Regions from separate parts of the Homo sapiens genome. Here regions 1 and 3 are each linked to region 2. Evidence: promoter capture Hi-C in human tissues and cell types (Jung and others, 2019). All regions are on one chromosome and are shown on one strand. Each heading gives the region's core, a stretch centred on a gene start or on the middle of the fragment in contact. The rest is flanking DNA. Distances are from core to core; before and after follow the strand shown. Region 1 has its middle 55 kb from the start of EVX1-AS. Region 2 holds the start of EVX1 (even-skipped homeobox 1). Region 3 has its middle 38 kb from the start of EVX1-AS.

Region 1 (2,700 bases), core at 30-2,529, 59 kb before region 2:
CTCCAGCCTGGACAACAGAGTGAGACTCTGTCTCAAAAAAAAAAAAAGATACTTTCAAAGAGCAAAAGCAAAAAGAATGAAAGGAAGGGCAGACATTTGTCTGACTTCTCCTTAACGCCCTCAGCCTGGTTTCATGCGGCATGGGCAAGCAGCCAGAATCCTTGTTCATGTTTAGACTTGTGTTCAGCAGAGATGCAGGCTGCCCTGTTTCTTCCTTACCAGGAGTATCACTCCCCATGGTGCCCTCCCTAGCTCAGAAAAATAGCTCCGGCACTGAAGATGCAGGCTCAAAGCCGAAGAGAGCTCTCCACCGGGGAGCCAGGGATCCTGGAATCCACCCAAGGGCTGGCTCCACTCCACATCTCACTGAAGGTTATAGCCTGATGGGCACTGAAGACCCCCGGTACAAGGAGGAGTTTCCTTCCCTGAGTGACCCATATCAGTCTCAGCTGAGTCCAGGCTTTAAACTAAGTATGTTCTGCCTGGGTTAGGGCTTCCAGGAGCACTCTGAAAGATATCAAATTATACCCATATCAAATTGTATCTGCATAAGCACTTGCTCTTCTTCAGAGCTCCTCCACATCTAGTACCTTTCATGATCCCAACGACAACCCTGGTGGCTGGCAGAGGTGTTACCATTCTAACTTGGAAAATGAGGCCCAGGTTATAGAATCTACCCAAAGTCACACAGCAGAATTCAAACCCAGCACGTCTCATTTTAAAAGCATTGCCATTTTAACATTGCTTTAAAGCAATAATCAGCAAACCATGACCTGGGCATGAGCCAAATCCAGCTCACTACCTGATTTTGCAAGTAAAGCTTTATCTGAGTATGGCCATGCCCATTCACTCTCGAATTGTCCATGGCTGCCTTCACAGTGCAGAATTGAGTAGTTCCAACAGAGACCATATGGTCCACAAAACCTGAACTATTTTCTTTTTGTTGTTGTTGTTGTTGAGAAACAGAGTTTTGCTCTTATCGCCCAGACTGGAGTGCAATGGTGTAATCTCGGCTCACTACAATCTCTGCCCCCTGGGTTCAAGCGATTCTCCAGCCTCAGCCTCCTGAGTAGCTAGTATTATAGGAGTATGCCACCAGGCCTGGCTAATTTTTGTATTTTTAGTAGAAATGGGGTTTCACCATGTTGGCCAGGCTGGTCTCAAACTCCTGACCTCTGGTGGTCCACCCACCTCAGCCTCCTAAACTGCTGGTATTACAGGCATGAGCCACTGTGCCCGGCCAACCTGAACTATTTTCTAGCTAGTTCTTTTCAGAAAAAATTTACTAACCACTGTTCTGAAGTATTATTTTACTACTTTAAAAAATTGAAATAATCTGGTATACACATATTAACAGGACTGACCACATATTGGCCACAAGGATGTTGTCTCTTGAAGAAAGGAAAAGTACCACTTACTAGCTGTGTGGCCTTGAGAATACTTAACTTTTCTAAGCTTCATTTTCCTCATTTGTAAAAGGGACATAATAATAGTATCTACTTCTCTTAGTCTGCTCGGGCTGCTGTAACAAAATACCACAGACTGGGTGGCTTAAACAACAGAAATCGATTTATCACAGTTTTGGAGACTGGGAAATGCAAGATTAAGGTGATGGCCAATTCAGGTTCTGGAGAGGAACCTCTTCCTGGCTTGTAGATGGCCAACTCATATGGTAGGGGTTGGAGAAGGTGTTCTCTGGTGTCTCTTCTTATAAGGACACTAATTCTATTAAATTATTGTCCCACCCTTATGATGTCATTTAACCTTAGTCACCTCTTAAAGGCCCTTTCTCCAAATACAGTCACACTGGAGGTTAGGGCTTCAACATATGAATCTTGGGGCCACAGAATTCAGTTAATAGCACTACTTCACAGGGCTTTTGTAAAGGTTAAATAAAGTAATGAATATAAAAAGATTAGCATAGACTCTGGCATTTAGTAAGAACACAATAACAGTAAAAAGTATCGACTCTGACTTGTTAACAAAATACATAGAAAAAGCACAGTGCTTAAAGTCAGAGGACTTGTTTGATCTTGAGCAAGTCACTCAACCACTCTCACTTCAGTTTCCTAATCCACAAAGTGGGATTGCACAAAACCTGAAGAATAGTGCCTTAACATATGAAATGTATTTTTTTAATTTATTTGGTGTGTTGGCTTCTATTCAATTGCTTGTCATTTCATGATTACAAGATGGCTGCAGCACCTCAAGCCATTTCATCTACATTCCACACAAGAAGATAGAAGTAAAGGCAAGGCACAGGCCAGCTGGATTTGTCTGTTTTTACCAGAAAAACAAAAGTTTTCCCAGAAACTGTGTCCAACAGACTTCCACTTATGTTATGGTCATAACAGTGTCACATGGCTACTCTAACTGGAAAATAACTATGGAGAAGGGGTTTCTGTCAGTGTTTGCCATAAAATAGGTTTTCTAAAGAAAAATCAGTATTCACATACCCATATTATTGTGGTTGCACTAGAGATGACAAGGAAGCCTTATTGTAGGGTCACCAAGGATGGTCACCTTCATCATATGTGGTCACTGGTAACCTCTACTAAGAGCAATCTGATCTACAAAAAGTATCAAGAACTGACTTGAGAAAGAGAGAAAAGGGACACTTAGCCAAATCTGAAAAGAAAAAAAAAAAAACCACTACAGCACATGCAATAGTAGACAGAGAGGCTGGCTTCCTCTGTTTAG
Region 2 (2,700 bases), core at 16-2,515:
GGGAGGACCCGATCTCTGCCTTTTCAAATGCAACCGGAGACCAAAGGCAATTAGACCATTGGGACCATTTCCGACCTGGCGCCGCGAAGCCCGGGAAGTGACAAGGTAATTTGGACCTCTGACCGACGTGCAAACTGGTCGGAGGGCTGCAGCACCCGGGCTGCCCAAGTGGGCCGCAATTTTACGGTCCTTTATGGACTCCTGGCTTCCGCGCCTCCATGCCTCTTACACCCTGCCAGCCACAAACTGCCCGGATCGGCGTTTGATCTTGCCCTCGCCTGGGGAAAGTGTCTTCCCCGAGCAATTGAAGCATTCCCCGAGCAGTTGAAACACTGGGTGCTTGGGGTGAGCTTCGAATCCCCCAAGTCCAGGACTTGCATCCGCCCCCTCAGCACCCCGCACTCAAGGCACTGCTGTCACCCTCAGTCCCGCCAATGCCAGAACACAGTAGGAGACCCCCGCCAGAACGCAGATAGCAGAGAGAGTTGCTCAGGTGGGTCCCCCCAGCCATCCTGCCCTAGGGGAAGGGAGTGTCTTCCTCCTGGCCTGCGCCGAAGTGAAGGGTGGGCGCAGTGGGAGGCCCGGGGAGCGGAGGGGCACGGTGGCTACCTTTGCTGTGCTGGTACTCGGCGTTCCCGGTGGCGCAGTCCGGGGTGCAGCTCACCTCGATTTCTTCATAGAAATCCGACTCGGTGTCCGAGCTACTGGGTTGCCCCTGTCCGGAGAGGCTGTCGACTGAGGGGGCCGGGGGTCCTGGGCCGAGCATGGCCGCCCCAGCTACCTGGGGCTCGGCGCCCGGCCCCGCCGCGCTGCCTGCGAGTCCATCTACCGGCTCCTCCTCCGGGCCTCCCCCGCCGCGCTCCCGGGTGGCCGGAGGGACGGCCCGAGGGCTCAGGCAACCACGGGGCACCATTTTCTCGGGCGGCTCCGGCAGCGGGCTGCCCACGGCTTCGGACAAATTTGAGACTCTCTTGCCAACCAGAGTGCCAAGCTGACCCCCATCCAGAAACACAACCATGTCCTTTCGGCTCTCCATCCCGGGGCTCTCCGGTGGGGGAGGGGAAAGCCCCAAGTGAGTTCCTAACCCCGGCTCCCTGGGTCTCCAGCGGCCGGACGGATCTTGGTTGCAAGAGGGAGAAAGAAAGGCCGGGTGCCTGGGAGGGCGCGGAGCTGCTGGAGCGCGGTCTGGACCGCGACCGCGGCGGTGGCGGTGGGAGCTAGGGTCACCTTGTGAAGCGAGCGCTCCTCTGTGCCGCACCGCCTCTGGGAGGAAGCCCCATTGCCCTCTTCTTTCTAAGCTGTCATCCTCCTGCTGCAATCGTCATTACAGTACCGCTGGTGACGCCACTCGGCGAGCGCAAGTGGATAAATAGAAACGTCTGCCACAGCGAAGATGAAAGGAAACCCGCAGCTAATGGCTCGGCAGTGATGCGCCAGGTGTGGGCCTCGCTCGATTGGGGAGGAGAGTGTGAAAACAGACAGAGAGACACACACACTGAGAGAGGGAGACACCCAGGCAGAGGGGATGCAAATGGAATTCCGCAGAAAGAAAAGAGAGCTTAACGCGCGCGGCGAGTTCCGCAGGGGCAGCGGGACTCGGTAATTAAATAAGCTTTTGATTTTTTCTTTTATTGTTGTTTTGACTTTTGTTTTCTTAACTTGGTGCCTTGATCTAACACCGATGAAAGAATCCATAACTGCATTTTAGAAGTGTGAAGCCCGGCTTACAAGCCTCAATTCTGTCGGCATTATTACAACTGTCTGCCCCTGGCAGCTAACCTCAAACTGGCTGAAAAGTCTTTTTACAAGCTACGGAAAAATGTATTCCCCCGCCCCAAGTTGACTGGAGAGCTTGAGGCTGGGCCATCTTTTCCTCTTTTCTCCTCCCTCTCCCTACCCACCTCTGTCTCCTTACTCCTGCGAACCAAACTTTGCTATTTTTCTTCCCTAAGGGGCAAGAAATAAATACCTTATTATTATTTTTTAATTTAAAGACCCGCCTTGGCTTCTGTAAGAGTGTGTGCTGATTTCTTTTAAATACCTCCTTCCCATCTAGATGGCCTTAAGTTTTCCACAGCCTGGCTTCATCTTGAGATGGCTATTCGTACAAGAAGTCGCTTTCCCGTTTGCCTGGACCTCGCCTGCACTCCAGGTATGTTGGGTGGGGAGAGTTTCTAAGAGTTGTCTTTTTTTTTCCCTTGCCCATATTTTAAAGTATTCGTTCAGAATCAGCGAAGTCTCCTGGAAAGAGGTTTTTCGAATGAAGAGGCGCCAGGAATGCGGCCCCTGCTGTGGCAGTACTGGAGGCCCCTACTTGGGAGAAGGCAGTAGCTTTCACCGCGCTATTTTGGGCAGGGGTTCAGCCTCCCCGAGTACAAAAAGGTTGGGGTTCATAGAGGTTTGACTCATAAGGTCCTCTCCCAAGTCCCTGCCTAGGGGCAGTGGTACCTGTCTCCAAAAGTGGATGGCGTTTGAGGTAGAAGAGAGTGAAGTCGCTGAAAATGCCCTAAAACAGCAAGTAAGTAGGGACTCTGATGAAGGGCTGGAGGTGGGGGCAGGGGTTGTGGAACTTAATATCTGGAAGCTGCCATAGGCCTCTCTTGGCTCCTCTCCCAGGGAAGAAGCTGGTATAAAACTCCTTCAAACTGACCCTTTTTGAGCTCCAAGCAAGTGTGCTGGGGCCAGGTGGGTGGGCTGAGT
Region 3 (2,700 bases), core at 70-2,569, 42 kb before region 2:
TTGGAAGAAGAATTGTCTTGGGCCACACATAAAATACACTAACCCTAATGACAGCTGATAAGCTATAAAAAAATTGCAAAAAACTCTCATAATGTTTAAGAAAGTTTACAAATTTGTGTTGGTCCGCATTCAAAACTGTCCTGAAAAAAAAAAAAAAAAGCCGTCCCGACCCACATGTGGCCCATGGGCTACAGGTTGGGCAAACTTGTTCTAGAGCTTCCTAACTAGTTCCTTGCTTCCAGACTTGCTCCCCAAAGCCCATTTTCTACACAGCAGTCAAAGCATTCTTTTAAAAATGTACTCTGACCTTATTGTTCCCTTACTTAACACTATTCAAAGGTTCTCTTTTTACTTAGATTAAGTCTGAACTCCTTCCTCAGCCTACCATGCCCTGCACTATCATCTGAGCCCTGTCCTGTTCTTCTGACTGTACTTCTCATGCCCATCTCCTAACTCACTATTTCATGCCCATGATGACCTTCTGTCAGTCCCGCTTCAGAGACTCTGCACCTGTTTCCTCTTTGGGGATAATTTCCCTTCCCATATTTCACCCAGCAGCTCCTTCTTACAGCAGGTCTCACCTACAGACTACACTATTTAAAGTAGGGTTTGTGGACTCAAATCCCATTATTCTCTTTCACCAAATCTTGTTTATTTCCTTAGTTGCACTTATCACAATGCTTAATTTCACTTATTACAACTAGTCATTATTTTATGTTTGTATTCTTATTGTCTGCCTCCGCCACTAGGATGTGAGCTATAGGAAGATGAATATCACCTTCTTGTTCACCCTTTTATGACCACCTTTCAGCACAGTACTTGACACATCATAAGTGTTCAGTAAATATTAGCTGAATGAACAAACACATTCTCAAGAATTGGGGCCAAGTGCAGTGGCTCATGCCTGTAATCTTAGCACTCTGGGAGGCTGGGTGGGAGGATCACTCAAACTCAGGAGTTCAAGACCAGGCTGGGCAACATAGTGAGACCTCATCTCTACAAAAAGTTGAAAAATTAGCCAGGCATGGTGATACACACCTGTAGTCCCAGCTACTTGGGAGGCTGAGGTGGGAGGATCACTTGAGCCCAGGAGGTTGGGGCTGCAGTAAGCCCTAATCACTCCACTGCACTCCAGCCTGGGAAACAGAGCAAGACTCTGTCAAAAAAAAAAAAAAAAAAAAAAAAAGAACTGGTCTTAGATGATGAGAGGAGGAAAAAGAAGCAGAAGGTAATCAAAGGCATAAGAAGATATGCTCAAAGGAGTATATCTCATAGGCCAGGGGAAGATATGGCTTCAGGAGGGTAAGGGTAAGATTCACCAATATCAGATGCCATGAAAATATCAAAGAGAAGAAAGAGTTAACAACATCAATGGATTTGAGTTGGGGGAACAAGTGGTGAGTTGGGTCTAAAAGTTATATAGGCAGTGCATGTTGTATCTCTTGCTTAAAGAGCCTCAAAATCAAAGAGATAATGTAATGGCCCTGAAAGTAAATGGTTTGCTTTCCTTCTTGGATCCAAGAGACACTATATGTACCTTTTTTATGCTTCAATTTTCCGACTATGAAGCAGCAAAAGAAATTTTTAAAATCTTCCTCCCTACCTTGGTGGGATACCTTGAACATCAAGTAACAGACATAAAATAATTTAAGCACCCAGGATGCTAAAAAACAGAATGTTTTAATACTAATCCAGGAGACAGATGTGTAATTGGAAAAGGACCCAAAACAAGCATGTTCATTCTTCTCCATTGGAATAACCAGTCCCTCCATATTATTCCATAATCTTTACTGCACTCTAAATCTACTCCGCCTAATATAACTTCCATACTTAATTATTACTAGTAGGTTGGCACAAAAGCCACACAAGTTTTGAGTGGAGAGACTTTCAGAGTAATTGCCCATAAAGTTTTATCCTTTTCATTTAATTGTCATGTGGTATGATTCAAGTCATCACAAGAGGAGCAGAGACAATTCGGAGACACTGCCTATGAATCATATTAGAATGGAACTTGGTGAAATTTAGGAAAGAATATTTGAGGGAAATCAGAAATGTCTGATGGCCGTCCTTCCCGAGTTATCCTCATAGCACAAATTCATGTGGCTATTTCCATTATACATCCATGAACTCTAAAATATTATCCTACATACTTTTAGAAAAGTCAACAGAAATAAATGCCTTACCTTCAGATCTACAGAGTAGGTTTTATTTGCACAACATCAAAATTGTTTCTCGTGAATAGCCCCACAGATGGAGGAAAAGGTGGATCAGAGGTTAGGTGGCCAAGATTCCATCTACATCCTTAACTGTGACAAGACCAAAGAACTCCACTAGGTCTTAGTAAAAGTAAGGGTCTACCTAAATAGTCTGTTACTTAAGTCTATCTAAAAATTAATGAGAGCACAGCCTTTAATTATAGCATAAAATGACATTTTGGAAATTAAAGTATGCTTTTCTTCATTGAAAAATTTAGTAAATGAATTGAGGGAAAGGATAGCTGGTCACTGTGGAGGTATAAATTAGAGGCCAAAAGGAAGAAATGTCTCAATAACAAAAATATAAAGAGATAGAGGAAAAAAGATAAAAGGCATAACGGATATCTATTTTGTGAGTAATAGGAATTCTAAAGGGAGAAAAACCAATGAAAGAGAGGTAATGATTAAACAAATGGAAGGAATATTCCTTAGTCTGCAGCTTAAA

The links. Contacts are between HindIII fragments. The study calls those that stand out against the background at their distance.
Region 1: a fragment that was not itself captured here is called in contact with the fragment with the promoter of EVX1 in region 2 in 7 of the 25 tissues and cell types used here (adrenal gland, bladder, liver and 4 more).
Region 3: a contact is called between a fragment that was not itself captured here and the fragment with the promoter of EVX1 in region 2, in 2 of the 25 tissues and cell types used here (bladder and thymus).

The regions. Positions count from the first base shown.
Region 1 is chr7:27,300,703-27,303,402 of GRCh38, reverse strand. No RefSeq gene overlaps it. Among named protein-coding and RNA genes, the nearest start is that of EVX1-AS, 55 kb to the right of the region's middle. The HindIII fragment of the contact is 4,293 bases long and covers 1-2,700 here.
Region 2 is chr7:27,241,367-27,244,066 of GRCh38, reverse strand. EVX1 (even-skipped homeobox 1) reads right to left here and starts at 1,265. Exons shown (of 3, transcript NM_001989.5): 1 at 610-1,265. The coding sequence starts at 1,036. It overlaps EVX1-AS (EVX1 antisense RNA), which reads left to right. Exons shown (of 4, transcript NR_120507.1): 2 at 2,057-2,152; 3 at 2,426-2,518; 4 at 2,617-2,638. RefSeq lists an enhancer at 770-1,647. The HindIII fragment of the contact is 9,702 bases long and covers 1-2,687 here.
Region 3 is chr7:27,283,860-27,286,559 of GRCh38, reverse strand. No RefSeq gene overlaps it. Among named protein-coding and RNA genes, the nearest start is that of EVX1-AS, 38 kb to the right of the region's middle. The HindIII fragment of the contact is 6,744 bases long and covers 1-2,700 here.